3 separate regions of the Homo sapiens genome follow, and all the other regions are linked to region 3. The links are contacts of gene promoters, found by promoter capture Hi-C in blood cells and fetal thymus (Javierre and others, 2016). All regions are on one chromosome and are shown on one strand. The core of a region is centred on a gene start or on the middle of the fragment in contact, and the rest is flanking DNA. Distances in the headings are between cores, read along the strand shown.

Region 1 (2,700 bases), core at 104-2,603, 230 kb before region 3:
CTTTGCAGCACCTTAACCAGAAGACAATATAATGTCTTGGTTAATAGATACCTATCTCTGCAGATAGACTGCTTGTGTTTAAATTTCAGTTTTACAATTATTATCTGTGTGACCCTGACTGAATTAATTAATTTTGATGTGTCTCAGTTTCTCCAACTTTAAAATGGGGATAATAGTACCATTTACTTCACAGGGTTGCTGTGAGGTTTAAGTGAGTTAGTATATGTAAGACATTTAGAATGATGCTTGGCACATAAAAAACTATTATGATTATTCTACTGTTATCCTTGCCTCACCTTTGAAATCCTATAATCCAGCCTTGACATAGCACCTGTGGTACTTTTCACAAATGAAAATTTGACCAAGACACCCTCCTACTTAAAACCCTATAGGGTTTGTCTGCCTTAGCCCCCAGTCACCTAAGCCTGTCCTACAAGGCCCTCCATGATCCAACAGTCTGAAAGAATACATATGCGACACGGTGTGGAGGAAGCCCTAGCGAAGAGCAGCTGTCTGAGGGGAGGGGTGCAGTGCTGGGATTTGGAGTTCGGGGATGGCAGTTTGCACATACTGAAACTGAGGTGTTTGGGGACATCCAGATCAAGATGACTATAAGCATATGAAGAAGAGTGGAATTCTGATGAGAGGACAAATCTGGAAATTAGGATTTGAAGCTGTCAGTAATTAAAGGCTTGTGTTAAATCAAATGGCCTTGGAGGAGGAGCAAGGGGAGAAGAGGGTGCAGGATAACACCCTGAGGAACCCCATGTTTCCACAGTGGATGCACAGGAAAGGGAGGCATCAGAGAAGCTGAGGAGGAAGTTGTTTCAAGAAGTAGAGTGTGGTCATAGCCTGTGTGCTGGAGGATTAACATACAAAACAACATCAACAACAAAACGAGTAGAGAGTGGTCAGAAGAGTGCAATTCATTGGTCTAGGAGGGTAAAGGTCTCAGAGGGTAAAGACTGCAGAGTCCTGTGGATTTGGTAATCAGAGCCATGCAAGAGCAATTTATTGTTTCATCATAGGAGATGCACATTCCCAACTTCCATTGGGAATTCTCAGTCCATTCAACAAAGACTTATGAAGCCTGGTGCTGTGCTCGATGGAGGGGCACAGCTGTGAATAAGACCAGACTCGGCTCTTTTCGAATGTACAGCCAGACAGATTATATTATATCCAAGCAAATGAGAAAGACAGTTTCTCATAAGGTATAAGAAAGGGTGAGGAAATAGAGACAGTGAGTATGGACCATGTTTCCGAGAACCTAGGCTGTTGAGAACAGGAGCAAGAGATAATTTTTAGTTGGGAAGAAACTAGAGAAGGTTCCAGGTTGAGGGAAAGAGGTGTGGTGGGGCAGAGGGATGCAGGAGAGGTGGAGGGAGCTGATGGGAGCAGGATGGCTGGGAAGATGGGAGGAGATGGTATCTGGAATGCACTTGGAGGGATCTGTCTGTGGGAGGTTAATCCTTTCTCCAACTCGCTAAGGATGGGACCCAGGGCCCTTCCAGGTTTTTTTTTCCACCGACAAGAACCCCAAAAAGCAGGGCCTAGGTCATCTCCTCCAGGGCCAGGGTCAGGTCAGGTGGTTGGTGGAGGGGGTGGTTAGGGAAGAAATCTAGGTCATGGGTGGAGATAAAGTTGACATAGAATCAGGATGGAGGCTGGGCATGGTGGCTCAGGCCTGTAATCCCAGCATTTTGGGAGGCCGAGGCGGGCAGATCACCTGAGGTCAGAAGTTCGAGACCAGCCTGGCCAACATGGTGAAACCCCATCTCTACTGAAAATACAAAAATTAGCCGGGCCTGGTGGCACATGCCTGTAGTCCCAGCTACTCAGGAGGCTAAGGTAGGAAAATCACTTGAACCTGGGAGGTGGAAGTGGGTTGCAGTGAGCCGAGATCATGCCATTGCACCCAGACTGGGCAACAAGAGCGAAACTCCGTCTCAAAAAAAAAAAAAAAAAAAAAAAAAGGATAGAGGTCACGATCCAGGTGGTTGGGTTCAGGTTGGGGGTCATTTTAGGGGTCAGCAAAGGGTGAGGCCTTACCTTCCTCTTGAGAAAGCCAGTACTTCTCAGGCAAGTAGGGGTGGCCTGATATGGACCCCCTATAAGTGTAGTCCTGTACAGCACATTTGGCCATCTTCTGCAGGGCTTCGGGATCCACATGTCGCTCCATGGTATGAGTCAGACCCTGGGCAAGGGGAGAGGAGAGAAGTGGTTAGGGGCACAGAGACCCCAGCCCTGGGGTCTTGCTGGAACTAGATCCAGCCTCTCTTGAGAAGGTCAGCCCAGGTGGGTCTCCCAACCCCCCTCCCCATGTCAGAGGGATTCCCATGCTAGCCTTGGCTCCTCTGCACAGTGCTCTTGTCTGAATTACCCTTTCCTCCTTTCTTTTCATCCAAGGCTAGGGCTTGGGGCCGAGCGGTGGCCTTACGTCAGAGTAGTTTTCTGACTTTCTCATTTCTGCCATTTCCTGGTGGGGAGCTCATGAAGGTCAGAGCTACATATACCTGTCCTTTTTCTCCTAGACTGTATGCTGCCTGGGAGCAGGGCTGGGTCTCTGCCAACAGTGCATCAGGCCCCAGTCTCAGAAAAGAGGGCTACCCTGGGAGCTGGCTGCCTTATGTAGGTGTCTTGGACAGGAAAGGCTCTCTGGGAATCTAGCATCTTAAAGAAAATGAAGGACAGTGCTGGAGG
Region 2 (2,700 bases), core at 45-2,544, 180 kb before region 3:
TATTTTGGGAGGTTATAATCCAATATTATCATATTTGTTTTGTTGCTCAAATGTTTCCAGCTTTGGCCATTGAGAACACTTTCAGGTTGGCTCCTGTTTTAACCTCCCTGTGGGCTCATTTTGATCTACTTCTTCCTCCTTTATCTCTATGGGAAACTAATCATGAACCTAGAAGGTTCTGCAGAATATCTAATGTTTATCTTTAAAAAAAATTATCAGCCAACAACCTGCTTCAGGCCCTTCTCAGCATATTCCAGGATCACTGCAGTAGTAACCCACTCATCTCCCCACCTTGTCTCCTCTTCCTCCAACTCATCTTGTATATTACTGTTAAAAGACTCTTCTGAGAATTAAACACTGCTCTTATTGCAGTACTCCTTTGCTCAAGACCTTCTGATAGCTCCTACCACTTAAAAACTCCTCAACCTGACATCCAATAAGTTTTAAAAACATGACCCCAGTTTGCCAATCTGGCTGCTCCTCCAACTGCCATCTTTCTAAATCCTTTGATCTCTTTGCCCTAACTGTCAGCCCTCTATGCAGATGACTTCCAATTTCTATATCCAGACTGACTGTATCATTTTAAGCCATTAAAAAAAATCTGTATTGGTTTCCTTAACTTATAAAGGTAATGCATATTCAATGGGGAAAGTAACACAATACAGAAGTGAATCAAGTAGGAAATAAGCCTCCGACTCTCCTCTGCCCTCCCCGTTGCTCAGGTTGGTTTTAAGAATGAAGTGGCCTCGGCCGGGCGCGGTGGCTCATGCCTGTAATCCCAGCACTTTGGGAGGCCGAGGCGGGCGGATCACAAGGTCAGGAGATCAAGACCATCCTGGCTAACACGGTGAAACCCCGTCTCTACTAAAAATACAAAAAATTAGCTGGGTGTGGTGGCGGGCGTCTGTAGTCCCAGCTACTCGGGAGGCTGAGGCAGGAGAATGGCGTGAACCCGGGAGGCGGAGCTTGCAGTGAGCCAAGATCGCGCCACTGCACTCCAGCCTGGGCAACAGAGCTAGACTCCGTCTCAAAAAAAAAAAAAAAAAAAAAAAAAAGAATGAAGTGGCCTCTCCAGATTCTTCAGTATCTCTCCAATCTTCCTATTAAATTGCTATACCACAGTAAACAGATTTAGAGACATGCTTCTTGACATAAGAGTTTACAATACAAATCAGAAAAGGTTAAATTCAGAAAATATAGATATTTATTTTTATATTGCAACTTAAAATTTCAAGGCTTTTTCCTCATTTTATTTCATTTAATCTCTGATAATCCATCTATCATTTATCTCAATTTTACAGAGAAAAAGAATCTGAAGCCCTATAAAGCTGAGTAACTCCCCTGAAGTCCCATATCCAGAACTGGGCCCCAAGTTTCCTGGTCCCTTTCCTACTTTACCACATAAAATGGCCATACAGAAAACGATAACACAACAAGAGACAACACTAATGGGAGGAAGGCCAGAAGCCAAAGAGAACCATCCAGAACATTCAAATATTAGTGATCATAGTTTTACCTTGGGGAATGTGAGAGTAAATTTGTCCCCTTGCTTTCCTTTTCTTATATGGTGAAAGTGGAACTGTAGGAGATCTCTCAACAGGGAGTAAGAAACAGGAAGGTATCTGCTCAATGTTGATGGTTTTCTTTCTTTCTTTCTTTTTTTTTGAGACAGAGTCTCACTCTGTCACCCAGACTGGAGTGCAGTGGTGGGATCTCAGTTCACTGTAACCTCCACCTCCTGGGCTCAAGTGATCCTCCTGCCTCAGCCTCCCAAGTAGCTGGGACTACAGGCATGTGCCACCACATCTGGCTAACTTTTTGTATTTTTGGTGGAGATGGGGTTTCACTATGTTGGCCAGGCTGGTCTTGAACTCCTGAGCTCAAGTGATCTGCCTGCCTCAGCCTCCCAAAGTACTGGGATTACAGGCCTGAGCCACTGTGCCTGGCCAGTGTTGATGATTTTCTGTTTCCAAAGAAATGCCCTGCCTCCTAGAAGCTACAGGGCTCTGTAGAACTTGAGAAGGAATTGGGAAGATGTGAGTCAAGTGTGGCATGTCAAAGCTGGGGTGCATAGCAGGAACAAGATTGTTTAGACAAGTGACACACAGGTCTCTGGCAGCATTTCCACACTCAATTCATCTTACCCCCTTTTGGTATGCATACCCAATTTAAAAATATGGAAAGCATGAGCTCTATCACCTGGGAAAAAATGATAGAGTCAAAGATCATGATTTTTGACCATTTGTTTCCCCAAATAGAAAAAAATTCAAAGAAAAAGGTGATGCTGTTTTGTCATAACAAATTCAAATGCAAAAAGGTGAATACAGAACATGAAAGTTCTCCTATAATTCATTACTGTTGCCAGTTTATTTTATACTTCCAGACTTTAAAGATATGTAATCATATATACCAATTTAAACATACATGGAATCAGATGATCCATCTTCCATATGTATTTTACTCAGTAACTTTTGTGTTATGTGCGCTTTACCACAATGAAATGCATCTATCATGAATATCTTTTTATGTCAATTCATATTAGATTTACATCCTCCTTTTAAAAGGCTGCCCATATGTATGCTATGGGATGGAGGTACCATGATTTATTAAATCAGTCCTCCCTGATGGAGGTTTAGATTGCTTTTTTTTTTGAGATGGAGTCTCACTGTATCACCCAGGCTGGAGTGCAATGGCATGATC
Region 3 (2,700 bases), core at 28-2,527:
TCGAGCCCTTCTTCGGGAACGAGGGCCACAGCTGGAGCTGGGCATGGAACCCAGGCCAGGGGGTGCTCCTGGGGGTTGGTAACCACACTCATTGGGGTCCAGGGGGTCCCGGCTGAGCAGCACCCACACTGCAGGCACATGGCGGCGCACTGTGAGGGGGTCTAGCCCTGTGTCAGGTGAGGCTGGGACCCAGCTGTCCTCAGTCTGAAGGAAACGTAGCTTGGTGAGCTGGTGCAGGCCTGGGACCCGCCGCTTGACAATCTCAGCGCAGCTGACAGCCTTTCCTGCAGCCCTGCCAGAACCTGAGAACACTACATGCCGAGCACTGCCGCCCTCCAACCGACCCAGAGCCAACCCCAGCAGGTTGCGAATTTTGCTGCCATCTCGGACCCGCATCTCAAGGGTATCAGGAGGTAGCTGGGGCATTGGGGAAGGCGCTGGGAGCTCTACAGAGCCAGCTTTCCGGTAGTGCTCCATCCTGCTTGCTGTCTTGTCTGTGACTCTCGCTGCCCACTGCAGGGAAGCATCAGGTAAGTGCTAAGCAATGTGCCCCAAGTCACTGTCCACCATCCCCTATCTCCATCCAGGATATGGCCCTGCTCCCCGTTCCAGACTTCCCAGAAACAGGATCATGTCCCCTTGTCCTTAGCATCTCGTGACAAGGTCCATGCCTGCCGCAGTCTGGGAAAGGGCTGTACCCCATACACCCCGTTCCTCTACAAGGGCCATAACACCCCCACCTCCAATCCTGGAGTCCAAGAGGCAGGATCACATTCCCCAAACACTGAGCTCTTTGGGAAAGTGCCAGGCCCCCTCATCCTAAACTCTCCAGGACTGGGGCTTAGCCCCCCTTATCCTGGGCTCCTTGGAACAGGGCCTGGAACCCTCACCCCAGACTAATACCAATAGAGAGCGCTCCTCACTTGGGGCTCTACAAGGACAGGGACAAGGCCCTTCGCCCCAGGCCCCCCGGGAAACAGCCAAGAACCCTTATCCAGTGCTGCCCCCAAACAGAACGGATCCCCTCTCCCAGAGATTACCAAGGTCAATCTATATCAACCCAGGTCACTCAGAAACTCGGGGGCAGAGGCTCGACTCGGAGGGCTGCTCAGGACATTCCAAGACAGCCTTGGCCGTTTCCATAGCCACGGTCTCTTCCAGGGTCTTGCCGGCCGCTGCAGCCAAGCCACAGGCGTCCCCCAACCCTACGAGCGCCCCTCTGCCCGCCCGGTTCCGGCTCTCACCGAAGCCGCCTCACGCACGATCCGGAGCCAAGATGGCGCGCGGGCCCGGAGCGCACTAAGGCCGCGGGGCCGCGCACGCCCCGAGGGGGCGGGGCGTGAGGGGCGGGGCGTGAGGGACGGGCCCCGAGGCATCTCCGCCGCGGAAACAACCCGCTGGCCAGAGCGCCCCGGACCAGTCCCAGCGGGGATGGGAACACGAGCGCAGCCTCCGCTGTTACGCCCCGGAGGGAGGCAGGACAGTTCCCTGCGGTAGAAAGGAGCGGCCGTCGGGGAAGTCCTGCGTCTGAAGGAGGGGGATCTGGCCCTTAGAAGATGGGAGGGCTGGCGTTAGCTGTTGAGCAAACGGGGAGCTGTGGGTTTCACCGTGGGTGCGAACAAAGGCTTCAGTTTGTAGTGGCTGCTGTTGCATGGGCGAGAGCCTTAGTTACCGACTTCTGAGCTTCGACCTCATCCTGTGGGCGCTGGCGGACCACGGGGGTTTTCCGGGTTTTCCAGGGGCCAGTCGAACCAGATCTTGTGCAGGGAGCCGAGGAGGGAGTGGTGGGGAAATCGGGCCACAGCCCCTGACGACACCTGCCGCGGAGTCTGGGGGCTGAGGGGGCGGGGGTGCCCACGGAGCCTAGTATGGTGCCTGGCGTATGACCGGCGCTCAATATTTGTTAAATGATTTGTTACATTAATGAACCAGAGAAATCGCGGTGGGAATGGAAAAAAGATTAAGTTGGGAGATACTAGTAGGTTCAGTGACGAGTTGGCCACTGTTTGGACGGAGAAGTAGGAAATTCCGATCTAGGGTGACTCCCAGGTTTCAGATCGGTTTGGACACGCTGAATTTGAGGTGCCGGAGAGGTCGCAAAGGCGGGGCGGCCAATGGGCCGTTGGAAAAAGGGTCTGGAGCCAGAGCACTCCCTGAGACCACAAGGGGGCAGCAAACATTTGGTGGACTACGGTGCCAATCTGTTTCTCAACATGCTTGCCCCAGCGCCCCTACTTCCCAACTTCCCCTCCCCAGGACCAAAACTTCCTGCATCCAAACCTCTTAGGCTGCCCTTCTCGGCTCGTGGCAGCAGGTAGGCTCCCAAGAGAGAAATTTAAAGGCCTTTGCACATGCTGCTCCCTTGGCTCTGAAAGTCCCTGGATATCACTTACCAGGTCCCTTCAGTCCCTTTTTTCTTCTGTGTCCACCTGATAGGACTGCCCTTTTCCTTTACTGTCTATCCTGCTAGCCCGTGCAGGGCAGGGATTAGCCCTATCTACTCCCATCATCTGACATTTGGAGGTCTCTTATTGGTAAATGTGGGATAAATGGATACATAAAGGAATATCCTATTCACATAATCAAATGAGAGCCTTCATTTTGAGAGCTCTACACCTGCCAGAAAGCCAGACCAGGATGAGTTTAGTTCCCAGTCAAACGATTAGGCAGGCTGACACCTCTGCCCCCTACCACCTCCAT

The links. Contacts are between HindIII fragments. The CHiCAGO score rates a contact against its expected background, and 5 or more counts as called.
Region 1: a contact is called between a fragment that was not itself captured here and the fragment with the promoter of RPP25L in region 3, in 2 of 17 cell types (M2 macrophages and endothelial precursors). The highest score is 5.3, in M2 macrophages.
Region 2: a fragment that was not itself captured here is called in contact with the fragment with the promoter of RPP25L in region 3 in 1 of 17 cell types (M2 macrophages); the score reaches 5.5 in M2 macrophages.

The regions. Positions count from the first base shown.
Region 1 is chr9:34,383,588-34,386,287 of GRCh38, forward strand. SPMIP6 (sperm microtubule inner protein 6) reads right to left here. Exons shown (of 7, transcript NM_032596.4): 2 at 2,050-2,194. All of the region lies in intron 1 of LOC124902144 (a long non-coding RNA gene), which reads left to right. Among named protein-coding and RNA genes, the nearest start is that of MYORG, 8.0 kb to the left of the region's middle. The HindIII fragment of the contact is 5,604 bases long and covers 1-2,700 here.
Region 2 is chr9:34,433,173-34,435,872 of GRCh38, forward strand. The region is part of intron 1 of FAM219A (family with sequence similarity 219 member A); the gene reads right to left. Among named protein-coding and RNA genes, the nearest start is that of FAM219A, 24 kb to the right of the region's middle. The HindIII fragment of the contact is 8,827 bases long and covers 1-2,700 here.
Region 3 is chr9:34,610,820-34,613,519 of GRCh38, forward strand. RPP25L (ribonuclease P/MRP subunit p25 like) reads right to left here and starts at 1,278. Exons shown (of 2, transcript NM_148178.3): 1 at 1,245-1,278; 2 at 1-513. The coding sequence starts at 477. RefSeq lists enhancers at 196-749, 1,853-1,902, 2,030-2,079 and a silencer at 1,213-1,452. The HindIII fragment of the contact is 14,389 bases long and covers 1-2,700 here.